Regions from separate parts of the Homo sapiens genome. Here regions 2, 3 and 4 are each linked to region 1. The links are contacts of gene promoters, found by promoter capture Hi-C in blood cells and fetal thymus (Javierre and others, 2016). All regions are on one chromosome and are shown on one strand. Each heading gives the region's core, a stretch centred on a gene start or on the middle of the fragment in contact. The rest is flanking DNA. Distances are from core to core; before and after follow the strand shown.

Evidence for each region. The method cuts DNA at HindIII sites, captures the fragments that hold promoters and counts their contacts. A CHiCAGO score of 5 or more calls a contact.
Region 2: a fragment that was not itself captured here is called in contact with the fragment with the promoter of PICK1 in region 1 in 7 of 17 cell types (fetal thymus, M2 macrophages, endothelial precursors and 4 more); the score reaches 8.4 in fetal thymus.
Region 3: a fragment that was not itself captured here is called in contact with the fragment with the promoter of PICK1 in region 1 in 2 of 17 cell types (M1 macrophages and endothelial precursors); the score reaches 5.6 in M1 macrophages.
Region 4: a contact is called between a fragment that was not itself captured here and the fragment with the promoter of PICK1 in region 1, in 3 of 17 cell types (M1 macrophages, M0 macrophages and endothelial precursors). The highest score is 6.6, in M1 macrophages.

What each region holds. Positions count from the first base shown.
Region 1 is chr22:38,054,183-38,059,441 of GRCh38, reverse strand. PICK1 (protein interacting with PRKCA 1) reads right to left here and starts at 2,038. Exons shown (of 13, transcript NM_012407.4): 1 at 1,855-2,038; 2 at 1,592-1,689; 3 at 97-208. The coding sequence starts at 1,632. RefSeq lists enhancers at 1,337-1,960, 2,205-2,264, 1,961-2,586. The HindIII fragment of the contact is 5,557 bases long and covers 1,311-5,259 here.
Region 2 is chr22:38,695,054-38,700,312 of GRCh38, reverse strand. JOSD1 (Josephin domain containing 1) reads left to right here. Exons shown (of 5, transcript NM_001360236.2): 2 at 1-510. The coding sequence starts at 326. Among named protein-coding and RNA genes, the nearest start is that of JOSD1, 3.3 kb to the left of the region's middle. The HindIII fragment of the contact is 2,630 bases long and covers 260-2,889 here.
Region 3 is chr22:38,648,194-38,653,452 of GRCh38, reverse strand. FAM227A (family with sequence similarity 227 member A) reads left to right here. Exons shown (of 17, transcript NM_001013647.2): 2 at 3,191-3,426. The coding sequence starts at 3,285. Among named protein-coding and RNA genes, the nearest start is that of FAM227A, 5.6 kb to the left of the region's middle. The HindIII fragment of the contact is 536 bases long and covers 2,718-3,253 here.
Region 4 is chr22:38,617,440-38,622,698 of GRCh38, reverse strand. It overlaps FAM227A (family with sequence similarity 227 member A), which reads left to right. Exons shown (of 17, transcript NM_001013647.2): 11 at 2,408-2,487. Among named protein-coding and RNA genes, the nearest start is that of FAM227A, 36 kb to the left of the region's middle. The HindIII fragment of the contact is 1,279 bases long and covers 2,535-3,813 here.

The DNA.
Region 1 (5,259 bases), core at 789-3,288:
GAGAAGGAGTCAGCTATGCAGTGTGGAGAAATGAACCTGCCTTTGTCATGCCCAAGTAGGGATGTACCTTGTGCCCCCCTCCAAAGCGCCCAATACCTGGACGATATAGAGGCAGGGACAGTACTGGGCCCCTCCTCCAATGCTGATCCCGATCAGGTTCTGAGCATCCTTCTGCAGGGTCACCTTCCCAGGCACAGTCGGGATTCCGCTAGAAAGGAAAGCAAGCTAGGCTGACTCTCCTGGCAGAAGGATGACTGGAGCGGGTGGGCCCTCTAAAACTCCTGAGGGGCTCCACTGGCTGCCCAGCTTTTTCTCTCCCTCCCTTGGACAAAACAACATTTTGTGCTGGAACATGCACAGCTCTTGGAGTTAAGCAGATGTGGGATCAAACCCCAGCTCTGCCATTTATCAGCTGTGGAACTTGGTTTTTTTTTGAGATGGAGTCTTACTCTTGTTGCCCAGGCTAGAGTGCAATGGCGCAATCTCGGCTCACTGCAACCTCCGCCTCCCGGGTTCAAGTGATTCTCCTGCCTCAGTCGCCCAAGTAGCTGGGACTACAGGTGCCTGCCACCACGCCTGGCTGATTTTTTTGTATTTTTAGTAGAGACGGGGTTTCACCATGTTGGCCAGGCTGGTCTTGAACTCCTGACCTCAGTTGATCCGCCTGCCTCAGCCTCCCAAAGTGCTGGGATTACAGGCGTGAGCCACCGTGCCTGGCCAGCTATGGGACTTGGGTAAGTCAGCCTCTGTGCATCTCAATTTCCTCATCCATAAAATGTGGATGAGCACCCTTATCAGAGTTCTTCTAACCATGCATGGAGGGCACTAACAGCAACCCAGTCCATAGCAGGCACTCCATAAAAATAGGTCCCCCTTCCCTTTCATTTATTCGATCTCTGAGATTTGAGCCAGGTTCTGTCCTTGTCACCTTATCAGGCATCTATGTAGTATGATGGCCACCTACTCCAGGGAGTCTTCCTCTATTAAACTGTCCACCTCCCACCTCTCAACTGCTCGATTACCTCTCGGTTTCCACTATAAATTAGCATTGACTGGTGTTTTATGATAAGTACTCACGCTGATTCACTTATTCATTCAAAAAACATTCGCTAACAACCTACTGACGTCAAGTCCCTTACTAAGTGCTGAGCATAGAGAAAGGCATTGCACCCACTCCTTGATCTGAAAGAGGATATATTCTAATGGGAAAATCTGTCCTACTAACAACCTATGTTGGGAAGGAAGGGTGTCTACAATATTCCTATTCAACCTTCAAAACCTGGTTCAATTGCTACGTCCTCCATGAAGCTTTCCTTGACCATCCCAGCAGAAGCACTGCTCCATCTGCTTTGCTCTTCTTGTCACCAAGTCATGCTAATAGTGCCCTTATGGCACTGAGCTGTGATTATCCCTTTAACTGTCCACAGCCCCCTACAAATAGTGAGCTCCTGGGAGAGCAGGGTCCATTGCTGCTTCAGTACAACAACTGATCCACCGCTGAGAAGCAAGGGTCTGTGGGACTGGGAAGTCCAGGGAAATGAGGAACTTGGGGCTCCTATACTGCTGGAACTTGGGGGAATAAAATACTCACAGTTTATCCTCTTCGATGTCATAATCCAAGTCTGCAAACATGGTTCCGAGAGTTGGAGTGGGCTGGCTAACTGCCCAGCTCGGTAGGGGAATGGGGAACTGGATCCGGGAGAGAAAGGAGCATAGGATTTAAGGAACCCAAGTGCCTAAATGCCAACGCCACCCCTCCCTCCACCACCTCATACGGGACAGCAGTGCCCTCCTCTTCCCTCTGGAGTGGGATGGGACAGTCTCCGGGTGGGGGGCTGGGTAGGTGATTCTTACTAGGTACAAAGGGGGGCTCCAGGCCAGGGCGATAGGCTCAGATCCCAGAGTCCGCCCCACGGGTCTCCAGGCCCTGGGGAGCTGCCTCTGTCGCTCACCGGAAGCGTTGGTCCCACAGCCGGGTCCCGGCCAGGCTGGTACCTGAACCCACCTGCCGTTCCACCTGGCGGTGGCCGCGATTGTCACGTCACTTCCGGCAAGACGCGGAAGTCCCGGCTTTCCCCCCACTGGATATTTGCTCCAATCCCTGCAGACAATCCTTCCCTTCCCGGCTCCCGGGACGCTCGGAACCAAGAACGAGAACAAGTATTGGCGGAAGCTCGCTGTTAGTAGGAACAAGCGAAAACAGAGGAACGGTCTGGACAGGCTGACAGCGTCTAACCCCGCCCTTTGCCCTGCCGCCGCCGCCATCTTGGGAAGGGCAGGGTTTGTCCCAGCTTCCTCAGCTGCACTCAGGGGCCCGCGCCGGCCCGGCGGTTGCCATGGCAACGAAAGCATCCCTGAGCCGGGGTTACCTCCGGCGAGGCTCAGTGGACTATAAACCCCAAGACATCATGCCCTTTCACCCCTTCACCACCTGGGCCTGTGACTCCCCTACTAGAATGGCCCTTTGAGGTCCCAGCCCATCCCAGTTTCGCCAACTTAAGTGCCAAAGAGCGGGGAGTGATTTTGTGCGGGGCCACACACAGTTGGTGTAAGATCTGGATCGTGGCCCTGAAACTCCCGCCGCCTAGTCTAGGGATCTTTGAACGTCCAAACACTAAACAGAGAGCCAGGAGAGGTGTATTCAGTGGGTCTTGCTATTAAGGACAGACTGGACATGCTCCCTTCCCTTTATGTGCCTCAGTTTCCCCATATGTAAACCAAGGCCATTGAGGTAAATGCTTTCTATGGTATATGGTGAAAGGTTTCTCACACCCCCTCCTCCTTCCTTAGTCCTGAGGAGCAGCCCCCCTGGGGTCCCAGGGAGGGTCACGGTCCGCATGTACCTGAGGCTCGGGAAATGCTATCAGTGCTCCCCAGAGTCCGAATCTTGTCTCCTCGCCAGCCTCTGCTGCCACTGCTATTGTGTAAAGTGGGTTCCCTGGGGGAGGTTGGCTCTCCCAGAGCCACAGCCAGGCATCCACCTCATCCGGCAGCATGGGGCCAGGCCCATCCAGCTTGCTTCCCCAGCTGCCCCAGGAGCCATGGAAGAAAGATACAGAAGGATGATTATCCACATATCCCACGGCCGGTGGAAGCCCCGCCCTACTCTCTCCTTAGGTGGCTAATTGAGTCCGGACAGATGTGCAGAATGCCGTGACAATAACAGCCTTCCCACGTGTCCACTGCTCTCCTGTGAGATCACTTTCACAGGATTTGAAAGCTCACCACCACCCTGTGAGAGAAGACCAAATCTTGCCAGCCACATTGTGCAGGCAAGGAAACGGAGGCCCTGGGAAGCCTCTTCCTCTGGTATCATAGCGGCAGGGCTGGGGCTGGGAAAACCAAGCTCTGTTTCCAGGCCAGAATTTTGGTTTCAAAAAGCAGCAGTCTAAGGCCAGGTGCGGTGGCGCACACCTGTAATTCCAGCTATTTGGGAGCCTGAGGCAGGAGAATCGCTTGAAAATAGGAGAGGGAGGTTGTAGTGAGCCGAGATCAGGCCATTGCACTCCAGCCTGGGCGACAGAGAGAGACTCCGTTTCAAAAAAAAAAAAGGCAGCAGTCTCCAAACCCAGGTGCCTTAACATGGATTGTGGCTCTTCCAGCCCATGACCATGCTAGCTCAGGCCCAGGCTCTGCCATTTTGTAGCTGGGAGATCTTGGGTGAGTCGCTGTCTCACTCTGAGCCTCAGGTACGTGTAGAATGGGGAAATGACACCTGCCACCAGGTATTTGTGAAAGTCAAGATTAAAAGGAGAGGCTGGGCGCGGTGGCTCACGCCTGTAATCCCAGCACTTTGGGAGGCTGAGGAGTGTGGATCATGAGATCAGGAGTTGGTATAAGATCTAGATCATATATCTGGACCAGCCTGGCCAACATGGTGAAACCCCGTCTCTACTAAAAATGCAAAAATTAGCCAGGCATGGTGGTATGCACCTGTAATCCCAGCTACTCAGGAGACTGAGGCAGGAGAATCGCTTGGACCCGGGTGGCGGAGATTGCAGTGAACCGAGATCGCGCCATTGCATGCCAGCCTGGGTGACAGAGCCAGACTCCATCTCAGAAACAAAAGATTAAAAGGAGAAACAGGTGTGAGTGCTTTGTAAACAATTTGCATGGCACAGCTGTCACTCTGACCTCAAAACCCCCTACCCACTCTGGCCCTTCTTCTCAGGTTGGGGAAGATGCCCCTGTTTTCTGCCTTGTTCATCCCTTGCCTGCAGGCTCCGCTCTAATTCACCTCTTCCCGGCAGCCTTAGCAGACAATCTCAGCTCATATATCTTGCTCCCTTTTCTGAGCTGAGCTCCTGAGCAGTTGCTATTTGAATCATTTGTTCAGCAATTTGCTGTGTATTTGCCTTGTGAAATCTCTTCATGGTTTTCCTGAGCCAATTCTGCAGTGATTAATTTATTACATGCTTGTATTTTGTCTGGCAAGGTTTTTATCCCCTTTAAATTTGGGGCTTACAGCTCATAGCTACGCCTGGCTAATTTTTGCAATTTTTTTCTTTTCTTTTCTTTTCTTTCTTTCTTTTTTTTTTTCTTTGAGATGGAGTCTCCCTCTTGTCGCCCAGGCTGGAGTTAAGTGGTGCGATCTCAGCTCACTGCAACTTCTGCCTCCCGGGTTCAGGCGATTCTCCTGCCCCAGCCTCCTGAGTAGCTGGGATTACAGGCGCCCACCACCATGCCCGGCTAATTTTTTGTATTTTTAGTAGAGACGGGGTTTCACCATGTTGATCAAGCTGGTCTCGAACTCCTGACCTCAGATGATCCACCCACCTCAGCCTCCCAAAGTGCTAGGATTACAGTTGTGAGCCACTGCACCTGGCCTTTTTCTCAACTTACTTTCTAATCTCTGGCACCCCCATCTTCCATAGTATACTTAGAATCCATCAACAGGTGTCATTGTGACAGACAAGAAAAAGGAAATCAGATTGCTTTGTAATACTGTTGGTGTGAAAATGTCACAACCTGCTTAGCTTTTTTAGCAGAGGGGGTCACTGGAATCAGCCCACACAGCAGAGGAACATGTCCCAGTCAATTGAGGGGGTCTGGTTGGGACCAGGAATCTATTTGAGGGAAAAGAAAGTTCAAGTACCTTATTCTATCACCCAAGTAAGCACTTCTTGTTTTTCCAGCTGGACAGGAAGCCCCTGGTTCGGGGCCAGGTGCTCTGTTTTGCCCTTCTCTGAATTGGCCACGATGTCCAGCGCAATACCTGGCTGCAAATCTGGTGCTTGCAGAAATCGCTGCGGCTTTAGT
Region 2 (5,259 bases), core at 325-2,824, 640 kb before region 1:
GATTTTGGAGGGGGGTGGGAGGGAAGGGTGGGGAAACGGAAACAAGGTCTTACATTTTATGTGTTTTTTTAAATTCTGCACTTTGACAGTGGTAGCAAAATAAAAGTAATCCAAAAGTTATTTTTCTATTGAGAAGAGAGAAGAGGTGGGTTTTATTTTTTTCCTTTTGATTCCAATCTTTTCTCCCAGTGACAAAGCATAAATCATGGACACCAGAGAATAAGGTGGACCTCAGGAATCCGGAAAAGACTGAGAAGCTTACATTCTTCCTCTAGAGGGAAGAGTGGGGTGTTTATAGCCATCTCTGGAACCTAAAACAAAAAACATGAGTTGTGTGCCATGGAAAGGAGACAAGGCCAAATCTGAATCATTGGAGCTGCCCCAGGCAGCACCCCCACAAATCTACCATGAGAAACAGCGCAGGGAGCTTTGTGCCCTCCACGCCCTCAATAACGTCTTCCAGGACAGCAATGCCTTCACCCGGGATACGCTGCAAGAGATTTTCCAGAGGTAGGGGACCCTTCTCCTTGGCATCTTGATACTGATATTTCTGGATTTCTGTGGGTGGGGCAGTGTCTCAGCTTCATAAACCTTCAAAGCTGTAGGTATTAGCTAGATTGCGTTAGCAGGTATAAGGGACACAAGACATGAAAAGATAATCACTACCATTTATCAGGCACTTACGGTGGGCTAGGAAAGTACTCATAGCCTCAGCTGTGTTTTCTTGAGTGATCTTCAACAGTCCCGTGGAATACGTGTTAATATGTGATGTTATTTCCATTTTACTGATGAAGACACATTTAGTTCAGTACCTCGCCCAAGATAACAAGACTTGGAGCTGGGGTTGAATTCTTATATCTATGCTGTTGACCACTATGCTATAATGCCTGTAAAGCTCTGCTGCCGAGGAGTTTACAGTCTAGAAGTGGGACTAGATACGTACACGTTCAGTCACCTGTCTTTAAAGGTGGAATGTGGTGGGTACCACAAGCAAGATGTATAAACAATGCTCAGCTTTTCTGTGAGGCCATGTGCTGGCAGTAGTGCTGTTCGTACATTGCTTTGTGAAGCTCTCCCAACAGTCATTTCACTGCCTGTATTATGCTGATAGGCAGAAAGGTCAGGTAATATGTCCAAATAGCTTCTAAATAGCAAAGCTATAATTTGAAGTTGACTCCAGATCTCTTCTTTCTCCTTTATTCTAGATGGCCTTTCTTACCCACTTAGAACAAATGCCACCCCACAGGTTAATAGAGGTTCAGGTTTTGGCCAAGTACGGTGTAATCCCAGCACTTTGGGAGGCCGAGGAGGGCAGATCACCTGAGTTCAGGAGTTTGAGACCAGCCTGTCCAACATGGTGGAACCCCGTGTCTACTAAAAATACAAAAATTAGCCCGGTGTGGTGGTGCACGCCTGTAGTCCCAGCTAGTCGGGAGGCTGAGGCAGGAGAATCGCATAAACTTGGGAAGTGGAGGTTGCAGTGAGCCAAGATTGCACCACTCTGCACTCCAGCCTGGGTGACGGGTCTCGGAAAAACAAAAAAAGAAGTTCAGCTTTTTTCTCTTTGCTTTGATTTTCTAGAATTACTTTATTAAAGGTTTTGAGAGTCAGTTCTGTGGTGTCTTAATGGACACAACAGCATGGCTGCAGTCCATAGCAACTCAGGTGATGATCTTGCCTGATGACCCCGACTAGAAGTAGTTAGGCCCGCGCAGTCCTCGCTGCAGAGAAGCTCAAGCATTCTTCAAGCAGTGCATATTAGCAATTCCAGAAGACCTTTTTCTTACTCTCTTAGCTTGGAAGTGAAATTGTTGCCACATAGGGACCAGAATTACAGCTGGAAGCAACCTATTTGGGGTGATTTGTAAAACACAGGTATGGACCATTTGCCCTGAAAGAGCCAAAGGCCTACTCTTAGGAGAATGTTAATCCCCAGATGCAGACAAAACTATAATGAGAGTAATTATTTTCCAATGCCAGTAGTAACCAGAGTAATGCCTTACCAGAGCTAATATATCATTTGCATCATGGCCATTATCTGGCAGCAAGTAGAATTGACTCTTCAGGACCTGGGGCACTGGGAGATAAAATAATTCGTCTCAGATCATCAGGTCATGTCACTGAAAGGAGGACCCAGTACATGCTTCCTTTTGGCCAGCCATTAGTATTTCTCCTACTCCTAATCAGATATTTGCAAATTATTTCCTGAGCTAAAACTAGGGAGAAGGAAAGGACTCAGGGTGAGTACCTCAATGGCTTAGTACTTTGTGATATGTATGAACAATCTTGCAACAACCTTATCAGTGATGAACTTAGGAAACTAGGATTCATTTTAGGCGATTTGCCCAGTTTCACCTACTAGTAAATAAATTCCAGAAACAAGATTCTGTGTATCCAGTCACACTCTGGTAGAAAAGTTTTCACTTCTGTACATTTGGCCCCTGATCTGACTATGGGAATAATGATAGGATCACTAACACACATGAACACTTGGTGCAAAGCACCGTTCTGAGTGCTTTCCTTGTGTCCACTCAGTCCTCACACTGATCTTCCAAGATGGATTCTGTTGCTGCCCATTTTTCCAGTTGAGGAAATCATGGCACAGAGTTCACAGCTATTGATGGCAGAATTTGGCCCCACGCCTTTTGACTCTAGAACCTGCCCCGCTAACCGCTCTCCTGTTTCTCGAGTACTGGAAGCGCCTGTAGAGTGCTATCAGTAGCTGTTCCTCCAGCTGCTGAGCTGGGCCAGCACTGACGTTCTGGACTGTGCTCATCAAGTGTGTGTGGATGATAACAAGAGTTTCTCAGCTTTGTTCTCCTGAATACAAGAATGCTAAATATTTGCTAAATGCCCACATGGAACTAAGATCCTATTCCTTTTGAAGCTTTAGCAAATTGTACTGCATTCCCCAATTCTAGCAGCATAATATAAAGATCCAAAAAGTGCTGGCAAGCCAGCACATAAGGGCATGTATTCTGTCCCAACTCCAGAAGTGGAATTCTGTGTAGAGTATTTTATATTGAAAGAATGTATGAGTAGGTAGGAACAAAAAATACAGAAGTGTGAAAGGAATCTAGAGGAAAAAGCAAAGGGAGAAGAGGTGAGGGAGAGAAGATGGAATTTTTTAAACAAACATTGACTAGCTGCCTGCAGAGTGCCAGGCACTATGAGGCACCATAGAGAAAACGAGTCGAACAGGCCTCAGCCCCTGAGAAGCACATCTCAGCTATGCTTTAACCAGGCCTTGAGACTAGATTTAAGTGAAGTTAGAACCCTGGCATTCAGAGCAATTAAAAAGTGAAAAGTGATCAATTTGGACCTTAGCAGATATAATTCTATGCTGTTTAAAAGTGTGGCTAGTGAATGGTAGAAATGGGAGGGAAATGTTGATAAGCACTATTTGTTGAGAGGAAGTTCATCCTAGCAGTTGAATTTTAGCCAGAAAAAAGAAGCAAAATACAAAAGCAGGGTGGAGTTTCAATAGAGTTGTGGATGTGAGATGATTCATGCTTACAAGTGAATAGGAACTCAGAGCTGAGCTAATGACTCAACATGGCGGCAACAAGGACAGGAAGAGAGGAGTCAGGTGTGTCAGAGGCTTGGTCCAGGATTTGAACATAGTGGTAACATCTGCAAAAAGAGGTCATTTGTTTAAAAAGCATCTGTTTTCAACCTGTGAAATTGGAGAAAAGATAAACTGGGCAAGTGTCATCAGTGTATATGTATACAGATGTAGATATTAGATCTCATCATTTTATATAAAGAATGTGGGCCAGGCACGGTGGCTCACGCATGTAATCCCAGCACTCTGGGAGGCAGAGGTGGGCACATCACCTGAGGTTAGGAGTTTGAGACCAGCCTGGCCAACATATAGCAAAACCATGTCTCTATTAAAAAAAACAAAAATTAGCTGGGGTGATGGCACACGCCTGTAGTCCCAGCTACTCGGGAAACTGAGGCAGGAGAATCACTTGAACCCAGGAGGTAGAGGTTGCAGTGAGCCAAGATCGCACCACTGTACTGTAGTGTGGGCAACAGAGTGAGACTCCCATCTCTCAAAAAAAAAAAGGGGGGGTATAAGGTTTGAAAAAAAGGGTCATAGAAATCAAATTACATGATGGCAGCTTTGCTAGGTGGTTTTGAAAATGCTCAGGCCTGAAACATTTTCACTAGACTCATCCCAGTTTTTTAGTGATCAGATTCTTACATCTAGTTCTGCATTCCTCTCCCAAATAGGATTTTTCCCCCCACCCGAGACGGAGTCTTGCTCTGTCTGCCTAGGCTGGATTGCAGTGGCGTGATCTGGGCTCACTGCAGCCTCCGCCTTCTGGGTTCAAGGAATCCTCCTGCCTCAGCCTCCTGAGTAGCTGAGAGTATAGACGCCCGCCACCACATCCGGCTAATTTTAGTATTTTTGGTAGAGACGGGGTTTCACCATGTTGGCCAGGCTGGTCTGAAACTCCTGACCTCGTGATCCACCCACCTTGGCCTCCCAAAGTGCTGGGATTACAGGCGTGAGCCACCGTGCCCGGCCTTGGATATTTAATATTAAAATTTAACCACGGCTGGGCTTGGTGGCTTATGCCTGTAATCCCAGCACTTTGGGAGGCCGAGTTGGGTGGATGGCTTCAGTCCAGCAGTTTGAGACCAGCCCGTGCAACATAGTGAGACCCTATCTCTACAAAAAATTTAAAAATTAGCTAGGCATGGGGGCTCGCGCCTGTAGTCCAGCTACTTGGGAGGCTGAGATAGGAGGATGGCTTGAGTCCAGGAGGTCGAGGCTGCAGTGAGCCATGTTCGTGCCACTGCATTCCAGCCTGGGCAAAAGAGTGAGACCTTATCTCAAAAAAAAAAAAAAAAAAAAACTAGGCAAAAAGTAGCTTGGTATCAAGGGAAAAAAATCTAATGAAAGTTGGAAGGAGCAAAGAGATTGGGGATATTGGTGAACAATTAGCATTCTCTACCACAGAGGATGACTATTCCAGCCTCCCCATTACATAGTCCTTGAGCAGGTGGAAGGGGCCACATTTAGAAGTATGGTGGTTATAACTGAGAAAAGTTGTTGTTAAGTATTAACCTCTAGAGACTTGAATTCTCTTGTCCAAGGGCTAGGCAAACACGTAGTAATAATAGCTAACACCTACGGATTACTAATGTGTGCCTAGCTCTTTGACCCATGCCTGATTTAGAAACATCAGGAAGTTCTGAGCCATATTTTCTGATGTCACATCTCTTCAGATCTGATAAGGAAAGAAA
Region 3 (5,259 bases), core at 1,736-4,235, 590 kb before region 1:
CTGAGCCAAGATTGTGCCATTGCATTCCAGCCTGGGCAACAAGAGTGAAACTCTGTCTCAAAAAAAAAAAAAAAAGCATTACATTCATTGTGCACTTTATTTCTACTGTTATTACATTGTAACATATAATAAAATAATTCTACAACTCACCATAATGTAGAATCAGTGGGAGCCCTGAGCTTGTTTTCCTGGAACTAGACAGTCTATCTGGGAGTGCTGAGAGACAGTGACAGATCATCAGGCATTAGATTCTCATAAGGAGCACACAACCTAGGTCTCTTGCATGCACAGTTCATAATAGGGTTTGCACTCCTATGAGAATCTAATGTTGAAGCTCATCTGACAGAAGGCAGAGCTCAGGCAGTCATGTGAGGAATGGGGAGTGGCTGTAAATACAGACAAGCTTCTCTCACTCACCTGCCACTCACTTCCTGCTGTGTGGCCTGGTTCCTAACAGGCCACAGACCTACACCCATCCATGGCCCTGGGGTTGGGGACCCCTGATTGTATGACTGAGGGTTATACTAAAAAGTCTGTCAGATGCTAAAGTCAGCATTTTTTTTTTTTTTTTTTTTTGAGATGGAGTCTTGCTCTGTCACCCAGGCTGGAGTGAAGTGGTGTGATCTCGGCTCACTGCAAGCCCCGCCTCCCAGGTTCACGCCATTCTCCTGCCTCAGCCTCCCTGGTAGCTGGGACTACAGGAGCCCGCCACCACGCCAGGCTAATTTTTAGTAGAGACGGAGTTTCACCATGTTAGCCAGAATGGTCTCGATCTCCTGACCTCGTGATCCACCTGCCTCGGCTTCCCAAAGTGCTGGGATTATAGGCGTAAGCCACCACGCCCGACCTTTTTTTTTTTTTTCTTGAGATGGAGTCTCGCTCTGTCGCCCAGGCTGGAGTGCAGTGGCGTGATCTCGGCTCACTGCAAGCTCCGCCTCCTGGGTTCACGCCATTCTCCTGCCTCTGTCTCCCAAGTAGCTGGGACTGTAGGTGCCCGCCACCATGCCCGGCTAATTTTTTGTATTTTTTAGTAGAAACGGGGTTTCACCATGTTAGCCAGATGGTCTCGATCTCCTGACCTCATGATCTGCCTGCCTCGGCCTCCCAAAGTGCTGGGATTACAGGTGTGAGCCACTGCGCCTGGCCTAAAGTCAGCGTTGTTTTTATATGCTCAAATATATTAACTTTTTTGTTATTTTAATTTTTCTTTTTTTCATATCGCCTCTTCTGAGAAGCATCAAATATGTTAACTTTATTTATTTATTTTGAGACAGGGTCTTACTCTGTCTTTCAGGCTGGAATGCAGTGGCATGATCTCAGCTCACTGCAACCTCCACCTCCCAGGTTCAAGCGATTCTCCTGCCTCAGCCTCCCTAGTAGCTGGGATTACAGGGGCCTGCCACCATGCCCAGCTAATTTTTGTATTTTAGTAGAGATGGCGTTTCACCACGTTGGCCAGGCTGGTCTCGAACTCTTGACCTCATGATTCGCCTGCCTCGGCCTCCCAAAGTGCTGGGATTACAGGCGTGACCCACCACGCCCAGCCCAAATATGTTAACTTTAAACAGGGCATTTGAATCTTGACTGCCAGAATGTGTGCTCCATGAGGGCAGAAGGTTTCTTACTCTTCCACTCTTCTGCCCTGCCCCCAGCACATCATATTGCTTGCCACAGGGTAGATATTTAAGGAAGCTAGTTTTCTTCCCTCTCCTTTTATCCTCCCCAAGTAATGGCAGTAAAAACTTACCATGTTTCAGAGAATACCTAAAATGGTATGAAATATTCAGAAGGGGCTGGGAGTGGTGGTTCACGCCTGTAATCCCAGCACTTTGAGAGGCCAAGGTGGGTGGATCACCTGAGGTCAGGAGTTCGAGACCAGCCTGGCCAAAATGGTGAAACCCCATCTCTACTAAAAATACAAAAATTAGGCAGTTGTGGGTGGCAGGTACCTGTAGTCGCAGCTACACGGGAGGCTTGAATCCAGGATGTCAAGGCTGCAGTGAGTGAGCCAAGATCGCGCCACTGCACTCCAGTCTGGACGACAGAGCAAGACGCTGTCTCAAAACAAACAAACAAACAAACAAAAAACCATGGTAAGTCTAAAAGGAATCACAGTTAATCCATAATTTGCCTAGTGGAGAAAGCAGTAGAAGCAAATCATTCCAGTTCACTATTGTGAGTCCTGTGATAGATGAATGCAGAACCTTGGGCTTTGCAGAGGAGGCATGGTGCTAATGGCTTGGAATTATTTGAGAAGGTTTCCACAGATATGTCACCTGGGCGTAGTCCAACAGAGGGAACCACATCTGGAAAGGCATAGAGGTAGGAAGAGCATTGTGTGGTCAGGGAGCAGGAAGAAGTTCTGCGGGTCTGGCATGTAAGATGCATGTCTGTGGAGAAGATGGAGCAAAGGCCTGAACCGGAGGAGAGGGAAGGAGAGTATGGTGAAAGGGCATTTGAGTTCATGTTCCCACCAAACTCAACGTTTTCTCTGTCCTTCCGTTATGTATGAGCTTCTAGAGGGCAGGATCTAAGTCTTTTGCTGTATTATAACGAGGCCTATCACACTAGACTCTGGACATAGAGGGCCCACAGATGGAAGTAATGGGTTCCTGGCCAACAAGCAAGGACCCAGGAGAGCTGTTAGACCAGAGTGTTGCAGAGCCAAGGAGGAAGAGTAGGGTTGGGGCCAGTTTTCTGAGAGGGAGCAGAAAGCTTCAGGTTGATCAGGAGCCTCGCGCTGAGGAGATGGACCCCTTATTCTAGAATCACAGCATCGGAAAGCTGGAGAGAGCCTTAGGGTCACCTAATCCAAATCTCTTTTAGAGTTGGGACTCAGAGAAGCAAAGAGATCTGATTTCATTTCTCGTTTGGGAACTGACTTGCTGAGTGGTCTGGAGTAGTCTGGAGCCCTGGCCTTTTCCGCATTCTAGTTTCCTTATTTTTAAAACTAGAACAATTTTCATCATGGGGGAGGGGCAGAGGGAGAGTCAGGCATCAGACATTGGAAGAACAAGTCCATATACCTTGAAATCCTCATTTAAGAATAGGCTTCTCAGACGGAACCCTTTCATTCCCCATGCAGGCATGGGACATGTGCTTTGCCATCAACCCTGTGTAGCTGGGGAACATGGTTGGGCTTTTCTTCTTGTGTTTTCTGAGCTGGCTCTATGCTGTTTATGATTTCCAGGAGGCTGATTAAACAAACGACAAGATTGGAGTGGGAAATGAGAGGCTCTTAAAAGTGGAAGCTTTTTGTTTGTCCATTTACAAGAAATTGGACAATGAATCACTTCAGGAAGATGGAGGTCATCAACCTCACCACCCTACCTATGATACCAGTGGATGAGCACCTGGCTGTCTCGCTTGTCGCACGGAATACAATGGTGAAGACTGTGAGGAAGGAGTTAGAGAACAATCCACCCTGTATCCTTCTGGTGATGTCACCTACAATCAGACCAAATACACCTAACTTGAGTCATGCCACAGAGATCTAATCAGTGCTCAGGTCTATAATGCACATTACTTATTAGCTTGTCCCTTATACATTCATTTTTTCTTTTCTTTTCTTTCTTTTTTTTTTTTGAGATGGAGTTTCACACTGTTACCCAGGCTGGAGTGCAGTGGCACAGTCCCAGCTCACTGCAACCTCTACCTCCCAGGTTCGAGCAGTTCTCCTGCCTCAGCCTCCTGAGTAGCTGAAATTACAGGTGCCTGCCACCACACCTGGCTAATATTTTATATTTTTAGTAGAGATGGGGTTTCACCATGTTGGCCAGGCTGGTCTTGAACCCCGGACCTCAAGTGATCCACCTGCCTCGGCCTCCCTAAGTGCTGGGATTACAGTCATGAGCCACCTCGCCCAGCCATATTCCTTTTTTTTTTTTGAGACAGAGTCTCACTCTGTTGCCCAGGCTGGAGTGCGGTGGTGCAGTCTCAGTTCACTGCAACCTCCACTTCCCAAGTTCAAGTGATTCTCCTGCCTCAGCCTCCCGAGTAGCTGGGATTACAGGCGCCTGTCACCATGTCCAGCTAATTTTTTGTATTTTTAGTAGAGATGGGGTTTCACCATGTTGGCCAGGCTGGTCTTGAACTCCTGACCTCAGGTGATCTGCCCGCCTTGACCTCCCAAAGTGCTGGGATTACAGGCATGAGCCACCGCATCTGGCCAGATACATTTTTTCAATTACTTAAACTCTACCCATCCTCTAAAAGAATTTGAGACTGTGAAGGACTGTTTGACTCCAGTATTTTTTACTAACATAATCAGAAAGAGCCCCAAAGGAAGAAGCTCTGGAAGTATTTGTGGAAAGAATGGGGAAGAATATTTTAAAAGCTAATTTTAAAAAGTGGTTGCCATCTTTCCCTTCTATCTCCCAAAGAATTATAGATGTTATTGATAGCAACTAAGAAATTGTGGTGCAACCCTCCACCCTCAGACAGATGAGCATGAAACCCAGCTTTTTCTTTTTTTTTTTTTTGAGACAGAGTCTCACTCTGTTGCTCAGGCTGGAGTGCAGTGGCATAGACTCGGCTCACTGCAACCTCTGCCTCCCAGGTTCAAGGGATTCTTCTGCCTCAGCCCCCAAGTAGCCGAGATTACAGGCACCCACCACCACGTCTGGCTAATTTTTGTATTTTTAGTAGAGACGGGGTTTCACCATGTTTGTCAGGCTGGTCTCGACCTCCTGACCTCAGGTGGTCCACCCACCTCAGCCTCCCAAAGTGCTGGGATTACAGGCGTGAGCCACCGCACCCAACCTTTAGCCCATTTTTAAATCAGGTTGTGTATTTTCTTACTGTCGAGTTTTTAAGAGTTCTTTAAATATTTTGTTTGTTTGTTTCTGAGACAGAGTCTCACTCTGTCGCCCGGGCTGGAGTGCAGTGGCATGATCTCGGCTCACTGCAACCTCCACCTCCCGGGTTCAAGCAGTTCTCCTGCCTCAGCCTCCCAGGTAGCTGGGATTACAGGCATGTGCCACCACGTCTGGCTAATTTTGTATTTTTAGAAGAGACAGGGTTTCTCCATGTTGGTCAGGTTGGTCTCGAACTCCTGACCTCAGGTGATCCGCCTGCCTCAGCCTCCCAAAGTGCTTGGGATTACAGGCATGAGCCACTGCACCCAGCCTTTTTTTTTTTTTTTTTTTAATCAAGTTGACCTTGCCTCTTCTCACCTGCCAGCCCTTCTCCCTGGCCCCAAATCTGCTCCTTCTGGCATCGTCCAGGCTCTACCAGCATCTTACTGCCCTGGCCCTGTCT
Region 4 (5,259 bases), core at 1,925-4,424, 560 kb before region 1:
TTGCCATGTTGGCCAGGCTGGTCTTGAACTCCTGACCTCAAATGATCTACCCACCTCGGCCTCCCAAAGTGCTGGGATTACAGACGTGAGCCACCATGCCTGGCCAGCCCATTTTATTTAATCCTCACGACAACCTGCTGAAGTACACACTAAATCCACTTCACGGATGAGGAAACTAAAGCTCAGAGAAGCAACTTGTCCAAGGTCAGCTTTTCTATTTCACTCAGCAGACCCATAATGAGTTCTGGGTGCCAGGCACTCTGCTCAGCACTGGGAACATGGTGGTGGAGGCAAGCCCAGTCCCTCTGTTGCAGGGCCAAGGAGCCCCAGAAATGGGGCTTCTGCCTGGAAAGGTTCATGGCTTTTTCCAGGAAGGAATTCAAGAATTCAAGGATGAGCTGGTGGTAGAACAAAGCAGCTCACCTTGACTGTTGCAGCTCTCTGACTGCTTCTGCAGAGCAGGGCTACCCCATAAGCAGTGTGTTGAGAAGAACAGCTCAGGGCCAGTTCTGCAGGCTCATTTAAACCCACTTTTAATTACAGGCAAATTAAGGGGCAGATTATTCAGAAATTTCTGGAAAAAGGGGTGGTAAATTCCAAGTCTGGTCATTGCTAGGGAATGGATAAACTGTCTTGATGCCTGGTGGGCATGTCTTAGGAAGCTAGTCTTCAATTAGGTCTGGAGTAGAGTTCCACCTCCAACCTCACCTCTTCATGATCTAGTGGGAAACTCAGGCCACACAATTGTCCTGCAGGGGATTGGGCACTGCAGTGGGGGGGATTCAGAGGGGTAAGGCAACAGCGGGAGGGGGACCCAGTCCAGCCTTGAGAAGGTCAGTACGTGGCGTTTGAGCTGAGATTTGAAGGGTGTGTTGGTCCAAGGACCTGCAGCATCAGCATCTCTCCAAATCAACTGACTCCGACTCTGCAGTTGATCAGGACTTCCAGTGATCTAGAAGCATGTTCCAGTTTGAGAAGCCCTGGTTTAGGGCACTAAGTAATAGAATACCTGAAACCCTTAGAGCAGAGCACGGTGGTGGTTATTAGCTGGAAATTATAAGCTGGCACTTATTCAGGGCCAGACACTTTTTGGTTTTTTGGAGTCTTGCTCTGTCGCCCAGGCTGGAGTGCAATGGCGCAATCTCAGCTCACTGCAACCTCCACCTCCCAGGTTCAAGCGATTCTCCTGCCTCAGCCTCCCGACATAGACACTTTTACCTGTTAGCTCTCTAAGCATTTCCATTTCCTGATCCCTTCATAGATACGATTTCCCTGTAGTCATCATGCACACTCAGGGAGTTTTTTTTTTTTTCTTGTTTTCTTTTCTTTTCTTTCTTTTTTTTTTTTTTGAGACAGAGTCTTTCTGTGTCACCCAGGCTGGAGTGCAGTGGCGTGATCTCGGCTCACAGCAACCTCTGCCTTCCAGGTTCAAGCGATTCTTGAGCCTCAGCCTCCCAAGTAGCTGGGATTACAGGCATGCTCCACCACACCAGCTAATTTTTGTATTTTTAGTACAAAAATACAGGGTGAGACAGGGTTTCACCATGTTGCCCAGGCTGGTCTCAAACTCCTGAGCTCAAGCAATCCACCCACCTTGGCCTCCCAAAGTGCTGGGATTATAGGCGTGAGCCACCATGCCCGGCCGACTCAGGGAGTTTTTTCAAAGTGAAGAAAAACCTAACCCATAAATTGCTTGAGTTTAATGACATTTTAATGAATATTAAATTTAACAGCTATGAGTTTGATAGATTGTTTCTTAAGCATTTAAGCATTTTAATTTTGCAGAGCTCTGAATTGGTTTTTCTTCTGAAACCAGTCCTTTTTTTCCTGTGGGTTGAGTGTCTGCCCTATGCACAGAGCTGTGCATACTTTTTTTTTCTTTTTTTTCTTGAGACGGAGTCTCATTATGTCACCCAGGCTGGAGTGCAGTGACGCAATCTCGGCTCACTGCAAGCTCCACCTCCCAGGATCACACTATTCTCCTGCCTCAGCCTCCCGAGTAGCTGGGACTACAGGCGCGCGCCACCATGCCCGGCTGATTTTTTGTATTTTTTTTTTTAGTAGAGACAGGGTTTCACCGTGTTAGCCAGGATGGTCTCGATCTCCTGACCTCGTGATCCGCCCGCCTCGGCCTCCCAAAGTGCTGGGATTACAGGCGTGAGCCACCGCGCCGGCCCTGTGCATACATTATTTCCTTTAATTGGTGCATTCACCCTAGAGGGAGATAGTGTTCACAGTCTAACAGGACCAGGGTTAGGTAACTTGCCCAGCAGGTGGAGTCAACAGAGAGACCCTAGATCTGGTGGGTGTCACTGTCTCCAGAAAGGAGGCTGTCTCAAGCTCCTGGGCTACAATCTTCATTGTCCCATGACAAGAGGAATTAATAACAGCTTTTCCCCTTCTATAGGGAGAGAGTTTTCTTTGTTTGCTGGTAAGAGAGCCTTCTCCCAGAAGCCAGCCCAGAGCAGGAAATTCTACCACCCTCAGGTAAGTGGGGAGGCACGGACCAGGACCCCTTTGGAGTCCCATAAGCTTCAGGAACCCTCGGTTCTTCTGGAGCATCAGTGGCCTCCGGTTAGTTGCACATCTCTGTACCCCTTGCCCAGGTCCACTCCATCTTCTAAGTGAGGAGCCCTGGGAGGCCTCCAGGTCTCCCATGGGTAAGTGGCTAAGTGGCATACTAAGGGGCATTCACAGAAATGCAGCGATTGAGAAGAGAGAGGGAAGGAACCAGGTTTTCAGTGTAGGCTGCAGTGCAAGATGCTTTTACTTATTTTTTTTTCTCCACTAATCCTCATGGCAAACCTGAAACCTAGCAGTCATCCCTGATACGTACTTTCTCCTCTGCCCTATTGATGTTCCTTCTGATGTACCTCCCAGAACCACCTGTTTCTCACTTTTCCACTCCCACCACCCTAGTTTGAGCTCCCATCACTACTGCAGTAGGCACCTAACTGGTCTCCCTCAGGTTCTCAGATACTTCTAGGGCCATCTTTTCAAAGTGCAAAGCTAAGTACATCATCCCATCACCACCTGACCCTATCCTATCCCCCGACCCTAAAAACCCTACTTCCAGGCCAGGCACAGTGACTCACGCCTATAATCCCAATACTTTGGGAGCCCAAGGCAGGCAGATCACTTGAGACCAGGAGTCCAAGACCAGTCTGGTCCACATGGTGAAACCTCGTCTCTACTAAAAATACAAAAATTAGCCAGGCTTGGTGCCATGCACCTGTAGTCCCAGCTACTCAGGAGGCTGAGGCACAAGAATTGCTTGAACCCGGGAGGCAGAGGTTGCAGAGAGCTGAGATCACACCACTGCACTGCAGCCTGGGTAACAGGGCAAGACTCTGTCTCAAAAATAAATAAATAAATAAATAAATAAGATCCTACTTCTAGCCAATAAAATGACACCCTCCACACCCCAGAATGCTTCCTCTGGCCTTTAGTAGACTGACTTGCACAGCCTTGCTCATCTGGCTCAACCCCTTCTCCAACCTCCTGGGCTCTCAGGGGTCCTGCCTCAGGGGACTTCTTTTATTTCCTTGTATACCACACTCCCTTTCTGTATGTGGCCTCTGTACCTCCTGTTCTTCTTGTCCCAGGTAAGCTCCTATCACCATTGCCATTGTCACTGTCAGCATTTCCTCCCAACCCCCAAGTCCAGAGACATTGATAGCATGCAGTTAACCAAATGCCACAAATAAAGGCTTTTTTTTTTTTTTTTCTGAAGAGCTGGAAAAAAAAATCCCAGGGCAGGGTTTAGCAAACTATGAATCAGACCTTTCACTGCCTGTTTTTGAAAATAAAGCTTTATTGGCACACAGCCATGGCCATTCATTTACTATTGTCTACAACTACCTTCACACTGAAACAGCAGAGTTGAGTACTTGCGATAGAGACTTTAGGACCTGCAAAGCCGAATATTTATCATCTGGCTTTTTGCAGAAAAAGTTTGCTAACCCCTGGTCTAGGAGATATATAGTCATCCTTCCATCTCAGTTCAGATTCTTGTAGGGAGGGAAAAAAACCTTTTATCTACCCTCTGAGGCAAAGTGTATGGAGCCCTACAAGTTAAACTGACAAAAGATAGACAGTTTAACAGGAGAAAGGCATTCAAATTTTATTTGATGTTAGTATTTTTACATGACACAGGACTTCATTGGAAGAAAGCGAAAACCTCAAGGAAGTGGCTAGGTCTGATAGTTCACATACCACCCTAACAAAGAGCAATTAATTGTGGAGATGTGACAAGACAAAGGAAAAGAGGTTTAGGCTTCTGGGGATGGTAAATTGTGGGAAGGTAAATATATGGGAGAAACTAATGGAAGATAAGGATTCTTTCAATAAGATTTCTATATGCAGATTCAAGGGGTGCCATCTCCAGTGATGAGTTGTCTCTTCTTCCTGGTACTGGAGATGGGAAGTGGGGACACCTTCACAAAGGAAAATTTATGCTCTGCTTTTAGATGGAAACTGGAATTGTAAAGAGATTTCCTGCATCTGCTGTTTTTCAATTGCCTTCAGCTCAAAATAATTCCTATGCAAAGTGGCCTATTTTGGGATGGCAGATTCTAACCCCCTTCACTCTCATCCTCAGGGTCAGCTTTCTGCCCCTCTGGGCTGGATGATGTTCCTTATTATACAGGCCAATGTCCCTTTCCTTCAGAGCACTCATGTAATTATTTGGTTATTACTCTGATCATGGCTGTTTCCCCTGCTAATCTTTTTTTTAATTGGTTTATTCTTTTAGAGACAGGGTCTCACTCTGTTGCCCAGGCCAGAGTGCTGTGGCGTCCTCCTGGATTCAAGTAATCCTACTGCCTCAACCTCCTGAGTAGCTGGAACATGTCACCATGAATTTTTAATAGAGAAGTCTTGCTATGTTGCCCAGGCTGGTCTTGAACTCCTAGCTCAAGCAATCCTCCTACTTTAGCCTCCTGAAGTGCTTCAATTATAGGTGAGCCACCAGGCCCAGCCTCCCCGCTAATCTTTAAACCCTAGGACAACATTCCCACTTCTAGTACCTGAATGCCCCATTTCTAATGACATGCTTCCTTAACAAATGGCATTGGAGGCTTAATTCATTAAGACAGCCTCCTCCGGCCGGGTGTGGAGGCTCACGCCTGTAATCCCAGCACTTTGGGAGTCCAAGGCAGGCGGATTACAAGGTCAGGAGATCGAGACCATCTTAGCTAACACGGTGAAACCCCATCTCTACTAAAAATACAAAAAATTAGCTGGGTGTGGTGGCACACA